Linked DNA regions of Homo sapiens: region 1 is linked to region 2. Evidence: promoter capture Hi-C in 16 types of primary human blood cells and fetal thymus (Javierre and others, 2016). All regions are on one chromosome and are shown on one strand. The core of a region is centred on a gene start or on the middle of the fragment in contact, and the rest is flanking DNA. Distances in the headings are between cores, read along the strand shown. Region 1 has its middle 12 kb from the start of MED18. Region 2 holds the start of ATP5IF1 (ATP synthase inhibitory factor subunit 1).

Evidence for each region. Contacts are between HindIII fragments. The CHiCAGO score rates a contact against its expected background, and 5 or more counts as called.
Region 1: a fragment that was not itself captured here is called in contact with the fragment with the promoter of ATP5IF1 in region 2 in 1 of 17 cell types (M1 macrophages); the score reaches 5.2 in M1 macrophages.

Annotation. Positions count from the first base shown.
Region 1 is chr1:28,339,285-28,341,984 of GRCh38, reverse strand. No RefSeq gene overlaps it. Among named protein-coding and RNA genes, the nearest start is that of MED18, 12 kb to the right of the region's middle. The HindIII fragment of the contact is 2,939 bases long and covers 1-2,700 here.
Region 2 is chr1:28,234,776-28,237,475 of GRCh38, reverse strand. It overlaps ATP5IF1 (ATP synthase inhibitory factor subunit 1), which reads right to left and starts at 1,352. Exons shown (of 3, transcript NM_016311.5): 1 at 1,206-1,352; 2 at 1,024-1,115. The coding sequence starts at 1,292. RefSeq lists enhancers at 1,094-1,153, 1,947-2,453 and a silencer at 1,890-2,114. The HindIII fragment of the contact is 3,687 bases long and covers 1-2,700 here.

The DNA.
Region 1 (2,700 bases), core at 111-2,610, 100 kb before region 2:
CATATTCAATGAAATTCCAATAAAATTCCAGTAGTAATGTTGAGAATCTACAACTTACTCTAAAATGAATATGAAAGAATAAAGGCCTATGAAAACCCAGTCTATATTTGTGTTGTTGTTGAGACAGGGTCTCAATGTGTCACCCAGGCTGGAATGTAGTGATCTCATCACAGCTCACTGCAACCTCAACCGCCCAAGCTCCAGAGATCCTCCTACCTCAGCCTCCCACATAGCTGGAACCACAGGTGCATGCCATCACACCTGGCTAATTCAAAAAAAATTTTTTTGGAGAGATAAGTTCTTGCTATGTTGCCCAGGCTGGTCTTGAATTCCTGGCCTCAAGTGATCCTCTTGCCCCGGCCTCCCAAAGTACTAGGATTATAAGCATGAGCCATCATGCCTGGATGCTAGATCTATTTTCTTTTCTTTATTATTATTTTTTGAAATATTACTACACTATAAGTCTATTTTAGAGGACAAAAAGGTAAGGGTACCTGCCCTATTGGTAGAAATGGCTCTACTATAAAGCCATAACAATAAAAACATTGTGTTGCGGGCACTGAAACAAAGAAATAAAAAATGAAATAGAATGGAGAGCTTAAAAATAAAGTATATACGAGGAAACCTAATATGTAACAACGGTAGCATCAGAAAGCACTGAAAATTGTTTTTCAGATGGTGGTAGAAAAACTAATTCACTGCAAGGAGAAGAAAGCTGGATTTTTACTTGAAACCACCTAGAAGATAGACTCCAGATGGATTAAAGACCTAAATGTGAAAGTTAAAACTATAAAGCTAAGAAGGAAAATCTGTTCCCTAAGGGTAAATGAAGACTTCCTACACAAAATTCTATGCCGGGCGCTGTGGCTCATGCCTCTAATCCTAGCACTTTGGGAGACTGAGGCGGGAGGATTGCCTGAGCTCAGGAGTTCGAGACCAGCCTGATCAACATAGTAAAACCCTGTCTCTACTAAAAGTAAAAAAATTTAACTGGGCGTGGTGGCATGCACGTATAGTCCCAGCTACTCAGGAGGCTGAGGCATGAGAATTGCTTGAACCCGGGAGGCAGAGGTTGCAGTGAGCTGAGATCCTACCACTTCACTCCAGCCTGGGCAAAAGAGTAAGACTCTGTCTCAAAAAGAAAAACTAAGGAACAAGATTCCAAACCATAATATAGTCAAAATTTAGGATCTCTGCTTAATTAATGACATCACAGATAAAGTTAACAGAAAGGTGACAGACTGAGAGAAGATATTTGCAATGTTTTAAGCAAAGGATTAATATCTAGAATATACAAAGGTTCTGCAGATCAATACCATTGAAAATAAAATATAAAAAATGGGCAAAGAATATAGATACCTTAGTTTCACATACTAAAAAAGTCTATATACTGTTACATACAAAGAAAGAAATGAAAAGATTCAAATGTAATTATAACCAGAGACAAGCAAATCAAAACAACCAAGAGCTGCCATTTTACATCCATCAAACTGGAAAAAACTAGAAAGACGGGTCATGCCACATCACACCAACTGGTGAGGATGTGGCTATGAGTTCTTGTTCACTAGCAATAGGAAAGTAAATGTTACAGACATTCTGAAAAGTAACCTGCAATAGTTGGCAAATGTGAGCATGCTCATAGCTATACAGCCCAGGGGATTTTTTTTTCTTTTTTTTTTTTGAGACAGAGTTTTGCTCTTGTTACCCAGGCTGGAGTGCAATGGAGTGATCTCGGCTCACCGCAGCCTCTGCCTCCAGGGTTCAAGCGATTCTCCTGCTTCAGCCTCCTGAGTAGCTGGGATTACAGGCATGCGCCACCACATCTGGCTAACTGCATTTTTAGCAGAAACGGGGTTTCTCCATGTTAGTCAGGCTGATCTCGAACTCCCGACCTCAGGTAATCTGCCCACCTCGGCCTCCCAAAGTGCTGGGATTACAGGAGTGAGCCACTGAGCCCAGTCTTTTTTTTTTTTTTGAGATGAGGTCTCTTTCTGTTGCCCAGGTTGGAGTGCAGTGGCGCAATCTCAGCTCACTGCAGCCTCCGCCTCCACCTCCCAGATTCAAGCAATTCTCCCACCTCAGCCTCTCGAGTAGCTTGGATTACAGGGGCATGCCACATGCCCGGCAATTTTTTGCATCTTTAGTAGATATAGGGTTTCACCATGGTGGCCAGGCTGGTCTTGAACTTCTGACCTCAGTTGATCCACCCACCTCGGCCGCCTGAAGTGCTGGGATTACAGGCATGAGCCACCGCGCCCAGTCATCCAGGGGAATTTTTATAACAATCTACGAATTTGCTTATTTTAGCATTTTTTATGGTAGTGAAGAGTTGCAGGCAATCTCAGGTGTTTTTGTTTTTGTTTTTGTTTTTTTTGAGACAGAGTCTCGCTTTATCGGCCAGGCTGGATTGCAGTGGCACAATCTCAGCTCACTGCAACCTGTCTCCTGGGCTCAAGCAATTCTCCTGCCTCAGTCTCCTAAAGAGCTGGGATTACAGGCGTGTGCCACCATGCCCAGCTAATTTTTATATTTTTAGTGGAGATGGGGTTTCACCATGTTGGCCAGGCTGGTCTCAAACTCCTGACAGGTAATCTGCCTGCCTCGGCCTCCCAAAGTGCTGGGATTACAGACATGAGCCACTGTGCCCAGCCAGGTTTGTTTTCTATTGTTGTTGTTGTTTTTAATAGATACAGGGTCTCG
Region 2 (2,700 bases), core at 103-2,602:
GCAAATATCCATTTCCTATTCCAATCTGTCTAGAGCTTTCTTTGCCTATAGAAATGAATGGCCCACTGTAAGGCCAATAAAGGGTCTCTTGCATGCGCAGTACTTGGCAGTTCAATTTAGGTTCCAAGAAGGGACTGGATTACAATGTTGGTTTGGTCACATTTAGGCCTCAGTTTTCCTTAACTACAAAATGTAGGGGCTCAATTAGATAGTCTCTAACGGCTGTACCTTGGCTCTCTATACGGTATGGCAGGTGTCATGGTGATAATTCTCAACAGAAGGCAGAAGTGAAAGGCCAAAGGACAAGCAAAAGCAAGATTAATTCCTCACTGCTCTCCAGAGTGGACAGAAGTCAGTTAAAGATAACTCAAGGCTGGCAAAGGGAGGCCCAGCCCACTCCATACTCCTAAGCAGGAGAGGGAAATCTACAGGTCTAGGTTGGGCTGAGTAGGGCAAAAGCCTTTAGAAGATGGTGTCCAACCATAAGTAGCTCCCATGACCAGCTCCCATCATCCTCACTCTTGCGGAGTCGGGGGTCTAGAAACACCTGAGAAGCCTGAATGCATGCAGGCTTGCAAAGCTAAGGCGTGCTGGCGAGGAAGGAGAGCGTAGAGGGGGTGACAGGTGGGTAAGGGCCGAGGGAGTCAGGCTGGGAGGCAAACGTTGGGCGGTCGGATCTAGACACTGTGCGAAGAATCTGGGGGTGTTTCGCACGACCTGAGGAGAACTCCACGCGGGAGATGGTAATGATAAAGGAGGAGTTGAGCCGTGGGTTGTTTTGGAGACCCGCCGGTGGAAACGGTTTGGGGGCCTGAAACTGTTGTGCAGGTAACTGGGAGTGCCCTATACGTGGCAACGGTCGGGACATCAAGGGTTAGGGTATACTGGATTGGGGCCCGGGAGTTCTGTTGGGGGATGGGGCGCCCAAGGCACCAGGTAGGAACGGGTGGGGCGATTGGCAGTTTAAGGATTGGAAGGCCATTGGGAGATCCAGGGCTGGACTTGGGACCCGGTGAGCCTCACCGGAAATATCGTTCCTCTTCAGCCTGCTCTCTCTTTCCGAAGGCCCCACCGGCTTCCCGGATGGAGCCCGCGCCCCGGTCGACATTCTCGGACTGCAGAGAGACAGGGACACTGGTAAAGGTACGGAAGCAAAGATGGGATCCGCCCGCGGGGCTGGAGCAGCGGACACTGCCGCAGCGTACCTGATCCGAGCCGAAGCCTCGGGCTTGCATGGTCCTCACGCCCCACACGCCAAGCCACGTCCGCGCCGCCAACGCCGTCACTGCCATTGCTGCTGGAGCTGCACCTCTGGCGTCTCTGCCGCAGCAAGCAGTCTCTCGTTACGCGCTAATGGCAGGGACGGCCAAGCACCCAATCTGGTCGACGGAGGGGCGGATGAACACAGGAGTAGCGAATCACGGGAGAGCGGAGGCGGGCTTCCCGGAGCTCACAGCGAATCCCGAGCAAGAGACGGGTTTCTTCTTAGCCAACCGCTAGCAAGGGCTTAGGGCCAAAGGACTGGAAAGAGGAATGATGGAGGAGTTTAGAGAGCTGAGTGAGGAGAGTGCCAGAAGCCGAAATTTCGGCTCTTGGACCCATCAGAATGAGGCGTGGCGTCCACCTCCAGCCCACGATTTCAATTCTAAAGTCGTTATTATTCAAAGCCCAAAGGAAGTTTTCCCTTCCCTGGCCTGCTAGCATCAATAAAATGGGGGAATTCGGGGTTTGGGAGCTGTGTCCAGGATGCTGATGTCCAGGATACCGACGTCCAATGTGCCCTGGCTTAGATATACATAAATCGCGTTCATTTGTTATGAGAAGTGTCAGTGTTCTGGCTGGGCGCGGTGGCTCACGCCTGTAATCCCAACACTTTGGGAGGCCGAAGTGGGTGGATCACCTGAGGTCCGGAGTTCGAGACCAGCCTGGCCAACATGGGGAAACCCCGTCTCTACTAAAAATACAAAAATCAGCCGGGTGCGGTGGCACGCGACTGTAATCGCAGCTACTCAGGAGGCTGAGACAGGAGAATTGGCTTGAACCCGGGAGGCGGAGGTTGCAGTGAGCCGAGATTGCGCAACTGCACTCCAGCCTGGTGACAAAGCGAGACTCCGTCTCAAAACAAAAAAAAAAAAAAGAAAACCCAAATTATAACTTGACCACCTCAGGCACAGTTTCCTAGGACCTCTTGAGGCTGTGTTTCCCCAAGCTATGGTCACTCATCTTGGCTCAGAATAAACCTTTTAAAAATATTTTAGTTTGTTTTTTTCGTTAGCAACATATTGTTGAATGGGCTTAATAACTGCACTTTTGGCAATGTGGTGCAATGCAGTAGAAAAGAGCAGGCCAGGCGCGGTGGCTCACACCTGTAATCCCAGCACTTTGGGAGGCCGAGGCGGGCAGATCACCTGAGGTTGGGAATTCGAGACCAGCTTGACCAACATGGAGAAACCCCATCTCTACTAAAAAAAAAATATGAAAAATTAGCTGGGCATGGTGGCGCATATCTGTAATCCCAGCTACTCGGGAGGCTGAGGCAGGAGAATCGCTTGAACCTGAGAGGCAGGGGGTGCAGTGAGCTGAGATCACGCCATTGCACTCCAGCCTGGTCAACAAGAGAGAAACTGTCTCAAAAATAAATAAATAAAAATAAAAAATAAATTAGCTAGGCGTGGTGGCACATGCCTGTAATCCCAGCTA